3 separate regions of the Homo sapiens genome follow, and all the other regions are linked to region 3. Evidence: promoter capture Hi-C in 16 types of primary human blood cells and fetal thymus (Javierre and others, 2016). All regions are on one chromosome and are shown on one strand. The core of a region is centred on a gene start or on the middle of the fragment in contact, and the rest is flanking DNA. Distances in the headings are between cores, read along the strand shown. Region 1 has its middle 47 kb from the start of CD55. Region 2 overlaps CD55 (CD55 molecule (Cromer blood group)). Region 3 holds the start of C4BPB (complement component 4 binding protein beta).

Region 1 (3,065 bases), core at 25-2,524, 280 kb before region 3:
GAAGTCAGCGAGACCAAGAACCCAGCAATTCCAGACACACTACCGCAGATTTTTATTCCCATAAAGTTGATGACTAGATAAATGAAAGTAGAAAAAGACCACCACAATCACCTGTGGCTGATCTTATCTTGCTGGAAATAGAAGCAGCAGTAGGAAGTTGACCTACACCTTAATTCTGACCTCCAAATAAATATCACATAACTGCTTGTTACGTTGTAGATCAAATTTTCTCCTAGACTCCTAGCTTCAATGGAGTCTGTGTAATATAGTGTTTAGTCTTCTGAAATCTTTTAAAAAAATTATAAGGGAGGTTTAAGAGAGGCAATTCATTTTAATATAAATTTGGAATCACTTTTTAAAAATATCTATTGGAGTTATAAATTGATGTGTGGAGAATTGCTATCTTAACAATATTGAGTGTTCCAACCCACGAAAATGATGTTAATAACATTTACTTAAGTCTGTAATTTCTCTCAGCAAAATTTATAGTTTTTTTTTTTTAAATAGAATTCTTCCGTTTTTAAAAAATGTTACTTTAAGTTCTGGGATACATGTGCAGAACATGCAGGTTTGTTACATAGGCATATATGTGCCATGGTGGTTTGCTGCAGCCATCAACCTGTCATCTAGGTTTTAAGCCCCGCATGTATTAGGTATTTGTCCTAATGCTCTCCTTCTCCTTGCCCCCCACTCCCTGACAGGCCCTGGTGTGTGATGTTCCCCTCCCTGTGTCCATCTGTTCTCATTGTTGAACTCCCACTTATGAGTGAAAACATGTGGTGTTTGGTTTTCCGTTCCTGTGTTAGTTTGCTGAGAATGTTGGCTTCCAGCTTCATTCATGTCCCTGCAAAGGACATGATCTCATTCTTTTTTTATGAAAAATGGGATCTAATTAAACTAAAGCGCTTCTGCACAGGAAAAGAAACTATCTTCCATGTTTTGTAAAATTTATCTCTAACATGTTTTTGGATGCTGTTGGAAATGAAGTTGTTTTCGAAATTCATTTTCTAATTGTTCATTGCTAATACATAAAATTATAATTTTTATACATTAACATTGTATTCTGACCTCAATAAATTCACTTATTAGTTCTAGTAGACTCTTTAAGCTTTCTATGTATTAATACTTGGTCATGTCATCTACCAATAAAAACGACTTTCTTCTCCCTTTCCAATTTATTGACTGTCATTTCTTTTTCTTGCCTTACTGCACTGGCTAAAACTTCCAGTATAATGTTGAACAGAAATGGCAGAATAGATATCCCTGCCTTGTTCCTTATCTTAGGTAGAAAGCATTGAGGCTTTCAATATTGAGTACAGTGAAAGATGTAGGTTTTTGAAGATGCCCTTAATTAGATTAAGAGAAATGTTTCTTTTATTCTTAGTTTGCTGATAGATTTTTTGAAATCACAAATTAGTGTTGAACTTTACAAAAAGCTTTTCCTGCATTTATTGAAATGATTATATTTTCTTCTTTATTCTAATATGGTGAATTACATTGATTAATTTTTGGATGTCAAACCAACCTTTCACTCCCCAGATAAACCTCATTCCATCATGATGTATAGTAAGTATTCTTTTACATATACTAATTTGTTTTGTTAAAATTTTGTTAAGTATATTTGTGTCTATATTCATGAGGGATATTTGTCTGTAGTTTTTTAATATATTTGGCCTCATGAAATGAGTTTGGAAGTATTTTCTATTTTCTCAAAGAGTTTGTGTACAATTGGTTTTATTTCTTCCTTAAATGCTAGAGTTTACAAGTGAAGCCATTTAGGCATGAATTTTTCTTTTTGGAAAGATTTTTAATTAAAAATGCAATTTCTTGAATTAATAGGGCAATTCAAGTTTTATATTGCTTATTGGGTTAGTTTTGGTAATTTGTGTCTTTCAATGAATTGTTCATTTCATCCAGTGGTAGCTCTGCCCCAGGGAGGATCTTCCTGGTTCATTTTCCTCCATGGCCCTTTCAAAAGTGAATGTTGATCATAATCGTGATCCCCAGTTTATTGAATTTATTGGCATAAAGTTGCCTGCCATATTCTCATATTTTTCTTCCAATGATTATGCTCTGCAGTGAGTGATGTATTCTGTTGCATTACTAAAAGTTCATGGGTGGCAATTTCTGTCTTATCTCTTTATTCTTTACCCATCTAAATGGAAGTTTATCAATTTTATTTTTTTTAAAGACCCAGCTTTTGATTTCATTTTCACTATTATTTTTGTTTTCTATTTTAATTTTTACACTTACCTTTATTATTTCATTTCTTAATTTTTTAAATTTCTATTTCCCTTCTTCTACTTGATTTTCACTACCTTTCCACTCTGGAAGAGGTATTTTGTAGGATGACGGTCAAGTTGTCTTTTTTCGGATACTTCCTCATATTTTGATTCAGATTATGATTTTTGGCAACAATCACACAGAAATGACAGAGTTCTTTTCAATGTATCCTATCAGGAGGAACTAGGTGTTATTTGTCCCAATATCAGTGATGTTAGTTTTGATCACTTGGCTAAAATAGTGTCTGTCAGGTTTTTCTTCCGCAAAGTTATTATTTGCAATTAAGTATTTTGTGGAGAAAAAATTGAAGAGTATATAATTATTTCTCATCAGACTTTTACTGATTTAGCATTCATTGATTCTTGCCTGAAATAATTATTACTGTGATGGTTGCCAAATGCTGACTTTCTAATTGCATCATTTTTACTACATGTAGGTAATTGGAATCTTGCTATAAAGAAGGTGTCTTTCTTCTCTTTATTATTCAATTATATCAGTATGGACTCAAATTCTTATTTTATTCTATGTGCTATGATCCATTGCCATCGTTATTTATTTATTTATTTGCTGTAATTGTTTCAGATTTGGTCAGTGGGAGCTTGTTCATGTTGGCTTCTGAATCCATTTGACATGTCACAATAATTTTTTCAGCACTTATTTTCAGAACACTTAATTTGTGATACCACAAGATATTTCCAGGTTCATCTTTTACTTTCCCTACCCTAGCCCAGAAATCAGCCATTTCTCCCAGGAGCCCTATTTTTTTTTTAACTGGAGAAAGA
Region 2 (3,456 bases), core at 539-3,038, 260 kb before region 3:
TAGCTCTGTGAAAGGCAAGTTACAAATTTTGCAAAACCACAGTTATCTTAGCTGAAAATGGGATAAAAATGCTACATTATAAGATTGTTGTGAGAAGAATATGAAATAATACATTAAAAAAAATCAGTACAGTACTTGCCACAGAGAAAACATGTAAATATTACCTGAATAAAAGACTGTTCTTATTCTTTGGTGTGGCCAGAGGGAGTGATGAAATTATCAGAAATCCAGCTTAGGAAAATAATAGTGATTGCATGCAGTGACTTCCTTAAGCTAATATTTATTCAACTTTTAGGACTGTGCTTGGAGTTTTCATACCCACTAATCACATTAAGCTTCAAATACTTCACATAGGAATCACAATCTCTATCTCTTAAATGAGAAAACTGAGTCTCAGAGAGATTAAGTTAATCACTTAATCACTTGGGTTGAATAATTACTAAGTGAAAAAAACAGGATTCAAACCAACATCCGACTGGTTTGACTCCAGAGGTTAAGCTCTTTCTTCTATATGATTTTGTCTTTAAAAACAATAAAAACAAAACCAACAGAAAGCAAGCATTCTCAATGGGGGTGATACCTGATGAAAGTTAAAAAAAAATTTTCCTTTTTTAAGTACAGAGTGCAGATATATATGTGATACATAAACTGATTTACAGTATATGTGTGGTGGAGGATGATCAAAAAAAAATGTCTAAAAAGGTCTTTGGTGAGAAGAGAGCAAGAATTAACGCACCCCCCACCCCCCACAAAAAAAAATTGGGAAACACTTATACAAAGCCAACGGAAGAAAAGATTTAAAATTCACAACACATGCTTCATTTACAAGGCAAATTAGAAAGTTCTGTAACATTAGTCAGTCTTTCTTCCTTAGCAGAATAGGAAAAAAAAATCAAATACTTCCAAAATTCAAAGATCATCTGTATCATTTTACTTACATTGCAGTGTAATTGATGAAACAATTTTCTTGCAGTAGAGTTAATTTATCTTTAAAGAAGAGTAACCTCATTCACATAATAAATTTAATGAATATAATTTTCAGGTTTATGTCCTACAAATATGAAATCACACACAAAAAATGTTGCCATATGTCCAGTTTAAGAAGGAAGGACTTCCTCTTTATTTTTTAACACAAGCTGGAATGCCGACTAAGGAAAGTTTTCTAGAAAATCAAAGGGTATAATACTTAAAGAATTTCAGGAAAAAAAGGCATTTCAAACCTTCATTGAGTGCCATTGAGCAGGTGAGAAAAAACTCATTTATTAAACTCATCACTTTTGTGATCATTAAATCATCAGACTTTCATTTGAAACACATTTATTTCTATTTAAAACAAAGTGAATTCCAACAGTTGGAATCTTTCAAGATAAATCTTTTAGCTTAGAAGTTCATTCAAAATATAAAATAACCACAATAAATAATAATGATAGTAATGATAATGTTTTTATTACTCTTTTCAGATCCAACACTGGATCATCCAGATTCATAAGACAAGTTCTTAAAGACCTATGAAGAGATGGAAATAACCACACAATATAGTGGGAGACTTCAACACCCCATTGACAATGTTAGACACATAATCAAGGCAGAAAACTAACAAAGATATTCATGACCTAAACTTGACACTTGACCAAATGGACTTAACAGACATCTACATAACATTACACCCAAGAACAACAGGATATACATTCTTCTCATCTGCACATAGCACATACTCTAAGATTGACCACATGCTCAACCATAAAGCAATTTTAAACAAATTCAAAAAACCAAAATCATACTAACCATACTCTTAGGCCACAGCATAAAATATAAATCAATACCAGGAAGATCTCTTAAAACTATACAATAACATGGAAATTAAACAACCTAATCCTGAATGACTTTTGGCATTCTGAAAATTAAGGCAGAAATCAAGAAATTCTTTGAAACTAGTGAAAACAAAGATACAACATACCAGAGTGTCTGGGACACAGCCAGAACAATGTCAAGAGGAAAGTTTGTAGCATTAAACACCTACATCAAAATGTTAGAAAAATCTCAAATTAACAAAGTAACATCACCTCTAGAGGATGTAGAAAAAACAAGAGCAAACCAACCCAAAAGCTAGCAGAAGAAAAAAAATAACCAAAATCAGAGCTGAACTGAATAAAATTGAGATGCAAAAATCCATACAAAAGATCAACAAAACCAAAGCTGGTTTTTTGAAAGAATAAATAAGATTGATAGACAACTAGCTAGATTAATAAAGAGAGAGAACATCCAAATAAACACAATCTCAGATGACAAAGGGGACATTACCACCAACCCCACAGAAATACAAAACACCCTCAGAGACTATTTTGAACACCTCTATGTACATAAACTAGAAAACGTAGAAGAAATGGTAAATTCTTGGAAAAATACAACCTCCTAAGATTGAACCAGGAAGAAATTAAATACCTGAACAGACCAATAACAAGTTCTTAAATTGAATCAGTAATTTAAAAAACCTACCAACCAGAAAGAGCCCTGTACCAGATGGATTCACAGACAAATTCCACCAAACATACAAACAAGAGCCGGTACCAATCATACTGAAACTATGCCAAAAATCAAGGAGGAGGGACTCCTCATTCTATAAGGCCAGCATCACACTGATACCAAAATCTGGCAAAGAGACAGGACAAAAAAAGAAAACTTCAGGCCAACATCCCTGATGAAAGTAAATGCAAAAATCCTCAACAAAATACTAGCAGATCAAATCCAGCAGCACATCAAATACCTAACTTACCACGATCAAGTAGGCTTTATTCCTGGGATGCAAGGTTGGCTCAACATATCCAAATCAATAAATGTGATTCATCACATAAACAGAACTACAAACAAAAAAACCACATGATCATCTCAATTGTTGTAGAAAAGGCTTTTGACAACATTCAACATCCCTTCATGTTAAAAGTCATCAACAAACTAGGCATCAAAGGAACATACCACAAAATAATAAGAGCCGCCAGGAAAAACCCACAGCCAACATCATACTGAATGAGCAAAAGCTGGAAGCATTCACCTTGAAAACCAGTACAAGACAAGGATGTCCATTATTATCATTCCTATTCAACATGGTACTGGAAATCCTAGCCACAGCAATCAGGCAAGGAAATAAAAGGCATCCATATAGGAAGAGAGGAAGTAAACTATCTCTCTTCACAGATGATATGAGTTTAAACCTAGAATACTCCATAGTCTGCCCAAAAGCTTTTAGAACTGTTAAACAACATCAGTAAAGCTTCGGGGTACAAAAATCAGAAGCATTTCTATACACCAACAATGTCAAGCTGACAGCCAAATCAAGAATGCAATCCTATTCACAATAGCCACAAAAGGATAAAATACCTATGAATACAGCTAACCAGGGAGGTGAATGATCTCTATAGAGAAATACAAAACAAAGAAGACAGAGACAATACAAACAAA
Region 3 (3,165 bases), core at 113-2,612:
TGCTGGATTATTGATCCTGATTCCTGTGCTCTTCCCAAGTACTCTGTATTCTACTCCCAAGTAGCCGGGACTACAGGCACCCGCCACCACGCCCAGCTAATTTTTTGTATTTTCAGCAGAGACGGGGTTTCACTGTCTTAGCCAGGATGGTCTCGATCTCTTGACCTCGTGATCCGCCCACCTCGGCCTCTCAAAGTGCCGGGATTACAGGCTTGAGCCGCTGCGCCCGGCCGGAATTCCGAAGTTTTATTTTCAAAAGTATAACAGGAATTTTACTCAAATTCAACCACAAGTTGTCCACTTCTAAACAAATAGTCCCCTACACAAATAGCGATCCTGGAGTTTATAACAAGTAAGACCTCCCAGGATTTTGAAATTGGTACTCTTTTTGCTCCCAGAACAGAAAGGGAAAGTAAAAAAACAGTAACCACCCACTTCAGAGATCAGGGTTATCATTAAATGTACACTAAGCTCCTATTGAGTGCAGAGCATTAGGCCAATTTGAGATTTTTCAATAGAAGAATAAAGATATTATAAATGTAAACTTCCTTAAAGCCCTAGACAGAGTTCCTCAAAACACCGCAAAAGGACACCAAATGCCTGTAAGCTGAGTTGAAGGAAAGCATACGTACCATCTGAAGCAGAAACTCGCCACGCAACCATAAGACAGCACGCACACCAAAAAAACATCTGGTGATCAAAGTCCTCTCCCCAGGCTGGAATTCACCCAGCTCAGACACCTGGTTTGAAAAAAAATAGATCTTCTAACACTGCTTAAGACCAACCTAACCACCTCCTCTCTAGAGAAGAGGTTATATTGATTTACCCTCCCTGGAGAAAATGAAAAGAAAAAATCTTACGACAGGAAATCAGAACAGCTGTAAGGAAGCTGGTATAGGGAGGAACTGCAAAAATACAAAGGGATGGTAAAAGAGTTGCCAGGTTTAAAACTCAGTTTCAGAAATTTCCTGGTTTCTGGGAATGCAAATCCAGTTGACCAGTCTTTTTGAAACGCAGGCTTATCCTTCCCCAACAAACATGGGCCAAATGGTCTTGCCATGACCTTGACTTCTGTCAATAGTTGCCAATGTTTACAGTCCAACTTCTGTAACTCTGGCCAGCACTGGGGAAAGAGAACGGGCTGTCAATCCCTGGTTCTTGCCCAGGTAGAACACAATTTTGAATGCTACCTCATCCTCCTTTCCTGAATACCAGATATCCTAAGGCTGTAAGCAGCACTGAAGACGAAAGCTCAAGGAAGTAAACTAACCTTACCTGTCTCTGTCCCTCCAGAGTTAGGGCTTCCCAGCAAGGAACTGGTCTTAACTGACTCCAAAGCTGAGAGCTCCAAAGTCCTGCAGTGACACATTGTTCTCGCTTGCCAGGCCTGTACCCAGGCTTCCTACTTTGTGGCTCTTCCAGGGACAGGATTTGGCCTGAGTCCAGAGTTAACCAAATGAGTAAAGAGAGAGGTGAGGAGAATGCTTTGGTCTCAGGAATTAAGGCATGTAAAATTGTTTTGAGGGATCCCATATCATCTTGCTTGTGACTACTATAACCCTTGGTTGGTTCTCTGTGCTGTAATTATGAAACTGGGGAAAAATTCCTACAAAATTTCAGGTTTTAATAGAATAATAAAGCATTAAGGACACAGTAAGGTTGCAAATGTTCTTCTCTTCTCCATCCATTACTACTGTTTGTGATGATTAATCTATGTCTTTCTCCTGAAAGGAATCAGGATATGCCACCCCCAAATATTTGGCGTTAAGATTCTTTTAAGCTGAAGATATTTGAGATTCAGTGATATGGAAAGGAACAGAGATTTTGGGGGCTTTCCTTATCTGACTAAAGGCAGCAACCTTGGAGATAAGGTTGCCATAAATTCCTTTTCAGGGTAGGTCTATCCTGGAGGGGAGAGCATGAGTAAAACATATTTCAAATTCCTTCTCCAGAGAAATTTCATGGCCTTGAAGGAGACAGAAAGAACACTCGTACTTATATACACAAACATTATCACAAAACTTTCTAATTTCCTACTTTTCCCCTGAAAACCCACTTGCCTTTCCAAAAAATAATCTGTTTTCTTTTTTGTTTGAGATGGTGTCTTGGCATGATCTTGGCTCACTGCAACCTCCACCTGCCAGGTTCAGGCCATTCTTGTGCCTCAGTCTCCCGAGTAGCTGAGATTACAGGCATGCGCTACCACGCCTGGCTAATTTTTGTATTTTTAGTAGAGATGGGGTTTCACCATGTTGGCCAAACTGGTCTTGAACTCCTGACCTCAAATGATCCACCCGCCTTGGCCTCCCAAAGTGCTGGGATTATAGGCATGAGCCACCGCACCCGGCCAATAATCTGTTTTCTTGTAAGTGCCTTTCTTCTCCCCACCTTCACCTATTAAGATGATGTATAAGCCCCAATTCTAACCAACTTTTTGAATTACTTATCACTGAGTTTTCCCACATGTACTCAAGTTACATGTATAAATAGAATTTTCTCTCCTGTTAATCTGTCTTAGTCTAATTTGCAGGTCCCAGCCACTGAATACAATATGGTAGAGGAAAGGTGTTTTTTTCCTCCCCTTTATTCCCACAGGAAACTGCTAACTCCAGGACAGGGTTTGTGTCTGATTTGTATTTGTATTCCCTTCCACGGTGCTTCATATTGCAAAGCAGTTGTCTGTTAAATGAATGAAAGTAATGCAGAAATAAATGAAAAAAACTGTCATCCAGAAACTCTACCACAGCCCCCAAAATCCATATGATCACTTGCCATTTATCACATGCTGCCTTATGATTTTTTATGTCTTATCTTTTCTTAACTAATATGCAAATTCCTATAGTGTAAGCACCCTCTAAGACATGATTTTCAAAAAGTTAAAAATATGACACAAGTAAATATAAGATGAATATATATCAAAGATTTAATTCAACTCATTAATTAATGAGGAAACATTCAGATGCTACAACTGGTTCAAAGAAGAATTTGAGGAATAGGAATGCATATAGTCAGTCAGTCAAAAGCATTCTGAAGTGACCTTTCCAATAGATACAAAACTGGTTAATATCCTACAGAGTAACAAACTGTAATATTTGCAATTAGCTTTTCTACCTGGTGGAAAGTAATTAAAACAAAATGGACAAAATATATTTGCTCTACTATAAC

Evidence for each region. Contacts are between HindIII fragments. The CHiCAGO score rates a contact against its expected background, and 5 or more counts as called.
Region 1: a fragment that was not itself captured here is called in contact with the fragment with the promoter of C4BPB in region 3 in 2 of 17 cell types (monocytes and naive CD4 T cells); the score reaches 6.6 in monocytes.
Region 2: a fragment that was not itself captured here is called in contact with the fragment with the promoter of C4BPB in region 3 in 9 of 17 cell types (monocytes, total B cells, naive CD4 T cells and 6 more); the score reaches 11.9 in monocytes.

Annotation. Positions count from the first base shown.
Region 1 is chr1:207,367,542-207,370,606 of GRCh38, reverse strand. No RefSeq gene overlaps it. Among named protein-coding and RNA genes, the nearest start is that of CD55, 47 kb to the right of the region's middle. The HindIII fragment of the contact is 328 bases long and covers 1,111-1,438 here.
Region 2 is chr1:207,349,540-207,352,995 of GRCh38, reverse strand. All of the region lies in intron 9 of CD55 (CD55 molecule (Cromer blood group)), which reads right to left. Among named protein-coding and RNA genes, the nearest start is that of CD55, 30 kb to the right of the region's middle. The HindIII fragment of the contact is 2,902 bases long and covers 338-3,239 here.
Region 3 is chr1:207,087,057-207,090,221 of GRCh38, reverse strand. It overlaps C4BPB (complement component 4 binding protein beta), which reads right to left and starts at 1,362. Exons shown (of 7, transcript NM_001017365.3): 1 at 1,276-1,362; 2 at 633-740. The coding sequence starts at 690. The HindIII fragment of the contact is 12,500 bases long and covers 1-3,165 here.